Regions from separate parts of the Homo sapiens genome. Here region 2 is linked to region 1. Evidence: promoter capture Hi-C in human tissues and cell types (Jung and others, 2019). All regions are on one chromosome and are shown on one strand. Each heading gives the region's core, a stretch centred on a gene start or on the middle of the fragment in contact. The rest is flanking DNA. Distances are from core to core; before and after follow the strand shown. Region 1 holds the start of DCDC1 (doublecortin domain containing 1). Region 2 overlaps IMMP1L (inner mitochondrial membrane peptidase subunit 1).

Region 1 (5,796 bases), core at 1-2,500:
CAATTAAATCAAATTAATACCTGGATTCCTGCCACTGGTATCCTATTTTCTGGAAACCTAAATTTGTGGTTTCATATAAAAATTGATTTTTTTCCCCTCATGATTTAAAATCTGAAAGAAAAGACTTACCATTAATATGAGTTTTTGATATTTTTGTTTTAGGTCTGATATATTTGCAGATGGGTCTGCTCCCAGGATGCTGTACCAATCCTTTTTTGGCATCTGCTCAACCGCCATCATCCATGGAACCAGAAGTGGGCCTTCTCAGATTAGCTGAATAGAAATATTAATGACAATTCATCACAGTTTGCCATGTATCTAAGAAAAAATTAAGTACTGCCCTTGTAAATTCTTTAGTATTTAGTCGAGTAAATCATGATTATAATGCAAACCTGAGGAAGCACAGATTTTCATTTAAAATGCCCCAAGAATTCCAGGTATAAGTGTACCGACAAGTATGGAAAACGTGTTAGGTATTTCACGATATATATTTATACTTTAATTAATGAACAGCATTAAAAAAAAGAATTTTATAATGAACCAGGTGGTGTATGAACCTCTAAGAAGGTATTTCTGCTAGTCTTATGATAAAACTGGCACACAAGTAAGCACCCACTAAACACGCTGGAGGAGCTTAATGAATATTTACAAAATGAACGAATAAAAAAAAAGCAAAACAGAACATCAAAGAATTAAAATAAATTTGGGGGCATTCCTTCTGAAAGTTTCTCGTTTGCTTTTCCTCCAGATTGTCTGGAGAGCATGATATGGGAAATAACGTCAGCACCAGCTGGTAGAGAACAAGAGTCCCCTGTTATTGGAGAGGCGCTGAGACCTCGCAAAGACAGAGTGAAACTCTCTACGCGAGGATGCCCCAGTCTTCCACGCTCCAGAAGAGAGACCCTACCAGGAGCCCCAGAAATCAGGCAACCTCTTCCCACAGCTATATACACTTAACGAAACAGCCGGGGCCTCCTCAAGCTCGGGACTTGGGAATCTTCTCCATTCACAGTCGGCTTTACCCACCCAGCCATTGGCGGGCACCCTCTCCGCGCTTTATACGACATCAGACCTACCTAACTTCACATAGGCGCTGCTACCCACTCCTCGCCTGCTGTCGGCCAGAACTCCGGACCGGCTTCTTCTTCCGCCGGAAGTCACTGTTCCGACGTGTTCGCGTTTCTGGCCGAGCTGATGTGGCCGTGGCACAGCTCAGAAGCGACGCTCCGCCCACCCCGACGCGGTCTCTATGGTAACCGGTCACCGCTTCTATGGAGTGGCGTTTACTACCAGTAAGTTCCCAAACTGTGAAGAAAGGCGCCTTTGGCTTCGCTCTAAGTCTCTCTTTTCCGGGCCCCGCGACTGTCGCTTCTCTCCTCCTCCTCAGCGAGCACCCCCTCGCCATCCCAGGCTTTCCCCGCCTTTTTCAAAGCTTCCTCCGTTTACCGTACCCTGAGCTACTCTCAATCTTTTCGGTTGGTGCTTGAACTCTGGGGTGAGAGAGGGGTGCGGGGGCAAGGATGTGAGAAGGATGAGGAGACCTGATGCCACTCTCGTCCCTACAGTTCCTTTACAATGTTCTAATTCGAAAATTAAAAGAACTAAAACCTATGCCAGGTAGGGCTAGATGTGCGGGGGATGGGGTCGGTTTAATTTTTTCTGCAGAAGATATTCGACGTAATTATTAATATTTCTTTTAGACCTTAGCAACCAACTTACAACATAAAAACGTTCCAAAATTCTTTCACATTTGCTATTTCACTTCGCTTTCATTTCAACCCAGTGAGACAAGTAAGGCAGGTGCCATTATTCCCACTTTATAGATGAGGAAAGAAATCAAGGATCAAGGCCAAACAGCTAGTTGGGTAGGGGCAGAACAAGGACTCAGCAAGTCTACACATTCCCAGGGCAGCTATGCTATCTTTCAAGCTTACAGAAAAAAGCAGAATGAACTGTTCTTCTTCGAAGCAGTTAGGGGGCACTGCATATGGGCACTGTTGGGGTTTGTTATTGTTGCTGGTGGTGGTGGTGGTGGTGGTGGTGGTGTTTTTCTCACCTTTCTTTCTTCTCCCTTTCTTGATTCCTGTGTTTCCTTTTATTACTTCTTTGTGCTGCTTACTTTACATTAACACCTCTTCCTAGCATTGTACCTGGAGATGAAAACTACATCTTATTTTTGGCCAGCATGACATAAATTTCACTTGGAGATGTTAAAATGGTTTTGTTGTTACTGCTTTGATTTTGCTTTCCTTCTTTTTTAAACTTCTACCAATCTGAGTTTGAGAAGCAGTCAAGATAAACTTAAGCAGAATAAATAAAATAATCTAATATGATCAGTTATTTAATGATGTTATGAACTATAAAGAATAACTGAATGAAACAAGCAAGTTTAAAAATCTAAAGATGAAAGCATAGATTAGGTTCTCCACAGGGTTTTGTCATGTTTAAAGGCAGATACAAAGAGCATCTGGTTTTAGTCCTGGCTGCATCATACTTTCTTGTGTGGCCTCATGAAAATACCTAAAGCAATGGAATTAAGTAGTGTGGTGAATGCTTTTCTAAACAGTACTGTCAGAATGATGCCACCTTGAACATCTCTAGCCCTCAAACTCCCTTCTGTCCACAGCTTGGTTCTTCCTTGTGTAGGTAGATATGCTCCGGTACTCCAGGTTTTTTGTTTTTTACAGCAAAAGCATTTTATTTTGATTTACTATTTATTAGGTTATTGTGTTACCTTATTTATTTATTGGGGTTTGGAAAGTAAGAAATAGTTTTTTTCCCCAGCAATACCAAATATTTTGTCATTTCATCTCTACATACTTTAGTTTGCATCCCTAAAATGTACCAACTTTTTCTTTTATCTCCATAATGTCATTATTGGACTGTCACATAATATCTAGACCTTACTTACATTTCCACGGTTAATTGAAAATGTCTTTTTCTGGTTGGTTTGCTTGACTCAGAATCAGACAAAATGTACACTTTCCATTTAGCTGTTCTGTCTCTTAAATATCTTTTAAATTATAGCAGTCCCATTTCTTCACTAGAACCTTGTTTTTTTCTTTACTTGCCATTGGCTTACTGAATGAGAACAGTTGTCTTACACTCTGCTTATACCAAAATAAACTTCTTAAAACAATTTTTACATAAATTTCTGATCATTAAGCTTCCTTCATTTTTCATTTTATAGAGCAGTACTTTCCAATAGAAATATAATGTAAGCCGTAAGTGCAAGCTACAAAATTAATTAATCTAAAAATTATTAAGGCGATACTTTACATTCTTTTCTCCTACTAAGTCTTCAAAAGCTGGTATGTATTGTGCCCGAACACACCTCAATTTGAACTAGCACATTTCAAATGCTCAGTAGCCACATGTGACTAGTGGCTACTGTATCCAGCAGGGCAGGTCTAGAGAATAAAGTCCTAACTCCTTAACCTAGCATTCAAGTTACCTCTTCAATATGATCCTTACTTTTCCAACCTCCCCTATTATCTCCATACATTAAACATTTAAACAATTGGATCTTTTCATGGTACTGAAATCAACCCAACAGTCCCATAGACAGGGTTTTGTTTGTTTGTTTAGTTTTGTTTATTGGGGTTTTTTAAATTAATAAACATAGAAATGGACACTTCTTTTCTGAAAGCTTGAAACTTGCATTTGTTTTATCTTTTTGTTTGCTTGTTTGAGACAGAGTCTTGCCCTGGTGTCCAGTCTGGAGTGCAGTGGCATGATCTCAGCTCACTGCAGCCTCTACCTCCCAGGCTCAAGTCATCTGCCCACCTCAGATTCCCAAGTAGTTGGGACCACAGGTGCATGCCACTATGCCTGGCTAATGTTTGTATTTTTTTTTGTAGAGATGGAGTTTCACCATGTTGGCCAGGCTGGTCTGGAACTCTTGAGCTCAAGCAATCTGCCTGCCTCAGCCTCCCAAAGTGCTGAGATTACAGGCATGCGCCACTGCGCCCAGCCACATTTTGTTGATCTTTATCTCAGTTCCTTCCTCAAGAAAGGATGCCCAGACCTCTCAACAAGTATCAAAGAGCTGAAACTCACCAGATTACTGCATCTAGACAGTGATATGCCAGACCCCTCATTCTTCGTTATTGTTTCCTTACCCTTCCTTAGTTCCTGTTTTCTCATACGTAGTTAACATTTCTTCCCTGTTATATAAACCCCTAATTTTAGTCAGTGAGGAAGGTGAATTTGACACTGATGTCCCATCTCCTTGGCTGCAGCATCTGATTAAAGCCTTCTTCTTTGACAATAATCATTGTCTCAGTGATTGACTTTTTGGGTGGTAAGCAGCAAGACATAGATGGAACTCCTGGTGTTTTGGTAACAGCATTTCATCAATAATTGTGTTCAAATGCTTCTCCTTACTTATAACACCCTAATTCTTTTCTTCCTCCTATCAGAGTAATCCCTGCTTTAAGGCCTATCTCTTCCATCAAGCCTTTTATGATGGCCTGGTCCTTAGAACTTACTGCCGCCCCTCAACTTTCATAGCAAGTCCTTTGTATATCACAGTATATTGTTTTCCTTAGAATATATTCTGATTCCCCAGTTGGGTTGCAAGCTTTCTGAGAGCAAGAACACCTCTCCAGAGAAACTAAGAACCAGCTATCTTGCCTCATTCTCTGGAGTTCTAATGATACATAGCTCTAATAGTTTTGTTTCTCAGTATCTTATATTTAAAAGGCAATTTATCCATTTTATGTGAAACTTACATAGTGGAAATATAAACTATGTTAGTATCATGGTTAAAAGCATGAACTCTAGAGTCAGAACATATGTGTTTAGTCCAGGCTTTTCCTCTTACGGCTATGTGAACTTAATTCATCTCTTTGCTTTGGTTTCTTCCTCTGTAATATGGGAGTAATAATAGTATTTCCCTCATAGATTTGTTGTGGGAATTAAATGAGATAGTTGTGCCTGAAAGTAATAAGTATTCAGTAAAGGTTAGCTATTGTTGTTATTATTAATTAATAATATTTGTTGCACATTTGATATATTAGAATGTTGGACATTCATAACAGTATTTTAGGAATTTCCAAAGAGAGCAAATGACAGCAAGAAACAATTGAATTGGAAAAATAAAATCAAACCCAAATATTTGTTGAACTGTACATTTGGTTGGACTTCAGAATAAATTAAAAGGATAGGCAAAACTTTAGTTTGCGTCATCAGCATCTAACATAACCAAGGTAGGCGTATATTAAATATTTGATTCCCAGATGATTGATCAAGTGCTATAGATGTAGCTAGATACATCAGGAGTTTAAGATCCTTTGTCATGATGATAGGAAAAAATGACATTGTTATTAAATCTATCACTTTGGTACACGCCTGCCCGTAAACTAACGTCTACCAGACATTCACAAATTCTTAATTTGATGTCATACTAGTCAATTGTGCTTCTCATTGATGGATAATAATGGAAATCTATATCTATATTATATAGATGTATACATATAGTGTACTTCTGCTAATTATTTCCTATTCAGGATTATATTTACTTGGCTCTTTTGGTAGTTCCATCACCAACTATTCCTTCATTTCCTTGATTTTTATTTCTGAATTTTAGGATTTTTATACCAGTGAACTAAGCTGTATTTAAGTACCATGGGATATGATGGTTATGTTCCAAAATTGAATGATTGTCTCTAGAGCAACTTATAATCTACTGGGAAGATAGAAAAACCACCAAAAACTAGCTAGTTATTTGATTTTTAAAAGTCAATGATATATATACAGCCTTCATTCACCTATTGACTCAATCGACAAATATTT
Region 2 (5,963 bases), core at 3,036-5,535, 130 kb before region 1:
TATTAAATCTGTAGAGCCTTCACATAATTGATTTTTGTGTATTGTTCAGAGTTTATAGTTGTTGTCTATGGTAGGATTGGTCTGTCATAAGCTTACTTTGCCATACTGGAATGAGCTCTTCCTATCCTTTTGTGACTGTAGTGATTTCTTCTTTTATTTATTGCTGATAAATAAATATCAGCAATTGAGAATGAGTTTCTTTTCCTTTTTTTCTTCATTGTTAATTTTGCTAGGGATTTTTCACGTAATCTTTAAAAATACTCAAATTTGGCTTTATTGGTTTTTCTCAGTCTTTACTTTCTACTTTCTGTTTAATCGATTACTATTTATTTATCATTTATTTCCTTCTACATTCCTTCATTTTGATTTGCTAAGGCTTTGTTTGTTCCGCCTTCTTATACTAAAAGCTTAATTATTGATTTTCTGCCTTTTCTAATATACCGTATGTAGTTAAGAGCGTGCACTAGCTGCTCCTATAACTTATGGCATTTTATGTTTTCATCATTTATTTCAAAATATTTACTACTTTTTGTTTTGATTTTCTCTTTGATCTGTAGATTATTTAGGACACTTTTGAAAGTACTGAAATACTGAATTATATTGGATGCTAGGAAAGCAGGAGTAAGCTGGGACTGACCAGGGCAAATGAGTACTTATATTCATTATAATTTTAGTGGATTTTAAAGTATAAATGGAAAACTGGGGTATTTAAATTAAAACTTAAAAAGCCATTGTATAGTCATGTGTTAGAATGTGCAGTGTAATAGGGTAAATGTGTCCAAGGGTTTTAGTTCAAGGAGATTTGTCAAGTAAATCTGTCTACAAGAAAAAATAAAGGCAAACAAAGTGTTTTTAATGGTCAACACAAAAACATTAAAATTTTTAGCAAAAAAAGAAAAGAAATTTCAGAGACTGGCCCAACATTTGTATGTCATTCAGTCTGGGACTTTTCTCCATATTTGCATGTAGCCAACATGAGGAATTAAATAACGGCTGACTGGTGTTCCTTTCACGTGTCAACCAGAGTCTCATAGACATAAAGCTACTGTGTTAAAGCATGTGTGATGTTCTAATTATCGTGGACATTTCTGCTGAGATGTGATCAATTTCCCTTCGGTTTGAATAATTATGGAAGCCTGGGAGTAGGCCAAATATTTAAAACTATTTCATATGAAAAAATCACATCTACTGATTTTGCCCGAAGGGTCCCACAGGCTCCTGAAGCTCCTCTCTAAAGAAATAAATAAATCCTGGACCAATGGGTAGTGTTAGAGTGAAATTTATTATTTTGACTACTGTTTCTTAGTTTAAGAGTCTGGATATGAAGTATGTTTTGATGAATTTCTTGCAGGATAAAATGAAAGTTGGATATCCTAGCAAACATTATTTTCATTAACTCAGAACCAAATTGGATCCATTTATTACATAATTTAAAAAATTACTAATGGCTCTTGTTCTATATAATTATTCTACCTCTTTTTGAATTCTGTTTTCGTAGGAAACTTTATTATTACTTTCAAATGTGATAGCATTCATTACATTCTCAACCTTGAATTATAATCTCTTCCACATCTATGTTCAAATTTAGTTTCTCATTTGTAGTACTATATCTTTGAATTTTCTCTCAGTTCGGATTTTTTCTCTCTGACTTTGAAGGACTTTAAAAATATCTATTTCGGTGATATTTTCATACAACAAGGTCTTTGATGTATGCATTAATTATTTTCATTTCTTTTTCTTTTTCTTTTTTTTTTGAGACAGTCTTACTCTGTTGCCCAGGCTGGAGTGCAGTGGCATGATCTTGGCTCACTGTAACCTCCACCTCCCAGGTTCAAGTAATTCTCATGCTTCAGCCTTCCAAGTAGCTGGGGTTACAAGCATGTGTTACCATGCCCAGCTATTTATTTATTTATTTATTTATTTATTTATTTATTTATTTGTAGAGATGGGGTTTCACTGTTTTGGCCAGGCTGGGCTCAAACTCCTGGCCTCAAGTGATCCACCTGCCTCGGCCTCCCAAAGTGCTGGGATTACAGGCATGAGCCACCATGCTCGGCCATTATTTTCATTTCTAAAACCCCTAATTTCTGTCTTTTTCTAAATGTATTTCTTCTTCCTGCTTCTGAGTGTCTTATTCTATTCTGTGTTGCTGTAACAGAATACCTGAGACTGGGTAATGTATAATGAACAGAAATATATTGGCTCACAATTCAGGAAACTGGGAAGTCCAAGATTGAGGGGCTGGTATCCAGCGAGGGTGTCCTTGCTGTGTTATCACATAGTGGAGTGGCCCAAGAGAGAGCAAGAGAGAACAAGAGTCAACTCTCAGCCTCAATCTCATTTATAATTTTCATTAATCCATTCATGAGGGTGGAGCCCTCAGACCTAAACACCTCCCATTTAGCCTCACCTCTCAACACTATTGCACTGGGAATTAAATTTTCAACACATGCTTTTTGGGGGACACATTCAGACTGTAGCACTTAGGTATGTTTTTTCAGTGTAGCAATTGTTAAAGCAGTAATTAAAATGCAGTTACAATAATCTATTGTAATACCCAGATGAACCCTGTCCAGTAGAACCTCCTATGTTGATGGAAATGTTCTGTATCTGCACTGTCCAGTACAATAGTCATTAAACACGTATGGTTATAGAGTACTTAAAATGTGACTGATATGACAGAGGAACTGAATTTTAATCTTATTTAATTTTAGTTATTTTAAGTTATTTATTTAAACAGCTGCATGTGGCTAGTTTGTACTATATTAAATCACACAGCTTTAGATCAAGCTTTGGCAACCTTTTTCTATAAAAGACCAAATAGTAAATATTTTAGGCCTTGTAGTCCATATGGTCTCTGTTACAACTTTTCAACTCGCTGTGAGAGCACAAAAGCAGTCACAGATAACATGTATATGAATGAGCATGACTTTGTCCCAGTAAAACTTTATTGGCTAAAACAGAGTCTGCTGAATTTGACTCATGGGCCCTAGTTTGGCAACCTCTGCTCTAGGTTGAAAAAAAAAAGTGTCTACAGCTTTATGTATTTTTATTTCATTTGCCCTGTGTTCCGAGTCCTTTCAACACCCTCTCTTTGGGGAGTGTGTGTGTGTGTGTTTGTGTGTGTGTGTGTGTGCATATGTGGAACAGATTTTTGGAGGGGAGAGAGGAGTGTCTTTTCCTGAAAGTTTAGGAAGATTAACTCCTTTGGATTGTTCCTCTTCAACTTTTTCTCCACCTTTTCTATTTTTTCTGAATGGGAGAAGGTGGTGGCAGACAGGCATATATTTTATGTTTAAACTCTGTTCTTTTAATTCTATATCTCTTGTTTTACAGAGACATAGAATTTTTTTTCCTCCCTGAATTACCTCTGATTTCTCCAGGGTTGCTTATTCAGACTAATTATTTTCATTATGGACCTTCTTTCTCATGCTCGTGTTTTCCTTAAATGTTGGCTCTTTATTCATGTTGATAAGTGAAGGACCAGTGGAATAATATAGTAACTGGAGTGGGTTTTCTCTTTCTTTGTTTTCCCATCAAATCTTTAGCCTAAATGGAAAAAAAAAGACTGACCAATTTTCTTGTGGGTTGGTAGGACTTAATTTATTGGTGTACTTTGCTTTAATGTGCATAATCAAGGAGCAAGTACACAGACCAGTCGTTCTCTAATAGCCAGATGAGGAGGCCCCTAACCTAGCTCTCCAACCTCCATACTTGGAGACCAAATTCTTCTCAGGCAGATTACACTTTATTTATTTATTTATTTATTTATTTATTTATTTATTTATTTAAGAAGTTAGCCTCCAGAACTGCTGATTTTAGCTCAGAACCCCTTTGGAGTCACAGGAAGAAGCGTCTCATCTTCCTGAAGCATTCTCATGTTTGTGCTTGGCTAGGGGTGGGCATACATTTTCTGGGACCAGATGGTAAATATTTTAGGTTTTGCGGGTAATATGACCTCTTAACTCTTCCATGGGAAAGTAGCCAGAAATAACATTAACAAATGAGTATGGCTGTGTTTTAATAACACTTTGTGGACACTGAAATTTGAATTTCATGTAGTTTTCACATGTTATAAAAAATATGCTGCTGCTTTAGTCTTTCAGCCCTTTAAAAAATGCAAAAGCATGTGATGGGCTGGGAGATTTACCCTGTGAACTATAATTTGCTAACCATATCTGGACTGTCATTCGCTCCATCCAAACCTATCACTATGATTTTATATGCCTGGTCTTCCAGAAATTCTTCAAAATCTCTAGTGTGCCTTTCACTCCTTTTCTCAGCATTTATTTCTATTTATTTTTTAAAACGTACTGTCGTTTCAGTGTAGTGTTTTTTGTTTTGTTTTGTTTTGTTTTGTTTTTTGATACGGAGTCTCACTCTGTCGCCCAGGCTGGAGTGCAATGACGTGATCTCAGCTCACTGCAAGCTCCGCGTCCCGGGTTCACGCCATTTTCCTGCCTCAGCCTCTTGAGTAGCTGGGACTACAGGTGCCCGCCACCACGCCCAGCTAATTTTTTTGTATTTTTAGTAGAGACCGGGTTTCACCATTTTAGCCAGGATGGTCTTGATCTCCTGACCTCGTGATCCGTGCACCTTGGCCTTCCAAAGTGCTGGGATTACAGTGTAAGCCACCTCGCCCGGCCCTCCGTGTAGTTTTTGAAGAGAGTAGCAGTAAATTTATCTGCAGTTTTGAACCAGAATCCCATTTAGGCATGATATTTGAATCAAAAGACACATGGTAAAACTGAAATGTAAAGTATCTTCTTTAGTATCTTCTTCAGTATCTCCACTCCTCTCTCCATGGATGTATTGGTGATTAATTATATTAAGTAATGTTTTTGTTGAATGCCTATTGTAGTCCCTGTAATGTTGTGAATGCTTTATATATTATTTAATCCTCACACATTTTATAGATGAGTGTGTTCAGAAGTTAATGGAGTCACATAAAGGATAAGTAACTTGTTCTATCTAGGTCAGAAAGCTCGTAAGTGGAAGATCTAGGATTCACAATAGAGCTAGCCTGTCTGACTACAGAATTCATACTCTTATCCACTATTTTCCACTTCAGTCCAAATACAGGCTTAGTTTCCTCCTCAGGGTAGCTTTTTATGTAGCCAGTTTATGGATATTAGCATAAAACATGAAGCATATTTGCTCTGCTAAAATAGGTATATATTCAGAGTGATTAATATGGTGAGAAAAAGTGATGGGAAAGCAATTGAGGTAGTAACTGGAATATAGGTAGCTGGGAGGTGAAAGATTTTGAGTTTCATAAGACTTGTTTTAATCCTGTCAAAAAAAAATTAGACCTCTTTGTTTCTCCAGGGCATAGAAATTTCAGTTTCAACCCAGATTAAAGAACTTTATAACAGTGTTGTCCAGTGGTGAAACAGAATCCTTTGTAATTTAAAAATATTTCCTTCTTAAAACCTTTAGAATTTTAATTTTATAGTTCTGCTTATTATATTTTTTATTTCCCAAAGTGAAAGGTTCAAAGAATAACATTAAAGGTCATTTGGTATTACAATTTTTCCATTAGTCAAAATTAAAGATTTGAAAATAATTTTATAGTCCATTTGGTATTCTAAGGTTGGATTTTTTAAGAATATAAAGCAAATTATGTTTTTTCTATTAACATTTCCTAAATCAACTCACATGAAAATTAATAGATTATCATCATACATGACGATCGTTTTTCTCTCACTGAGCATTGGAATATGTTCACTTTACTACTTATCAGTAGCCCAGTTTTGATTTTCTAACTGAAGTATTTGTGTCTGCCCTCTGAACTGGCTCAAGGTTTTGAGCCCTTTAAAAAAATTTGTGTATGTGTGATAAAAATATACGTAACATAAAATTCACTACTTTCATCATTTTTAAGTATAAGTGAAGTCACATTAAGAGTACTTACAATGTTGTGTAATCATTGCCACTATTTCTAAAACTTTTTCATCATTCAA

Evidence for each region. Contacts are between HindIII fragments. The study calls those that stand out against the background at their distance.
Region 2: a contact is called between a fragment that was not itself captured here and the fragment with the promoter of DCDC1 in region 1, in 1 of the 25 tissues and cell types used here (IMR-90 fibroblasts).

Annotation. Positions count from the first base shown.
Region 1 is chr11:31,365,193-31,370,988 of GRCh38, reverse strand. It overlaps DCDC1 (doublecortin domain containing 1), which reads left to right and starts at 1,250. Exons shown (of 39, transcript NM_001387274.1): 1 at 1,250-1,292. It overlaps DNAJC24 (DnaJ heat shock protein family (Hsp40) member C24), which reads right to left and starts at 1,129. Exons shown (of 5, transcript NM_181706.5): 1 at 1,077-1,129; 2 at 130-273. The coding sequence starts at 240. RefSeq lists an enhancer at 837-1,316. The HindIII fragment of the contact is 7,317 bases long and covers 1-1,681 here.
Region 2 is chr11:31,497,767-31,503,729 of GRCh38, reverse strand. All of the region lies in intron 1 of IMMP1L (inner mitochondrial membrane peptidase subunit 1), which reads left to right. Among named protein-coding and RNA genes, the nearest start is that of IMMP1L, 8.9 kb to the left of the region's middle. The HindIII fragment of the contact is 5,372 bases long and covers 1,600-5,963 here.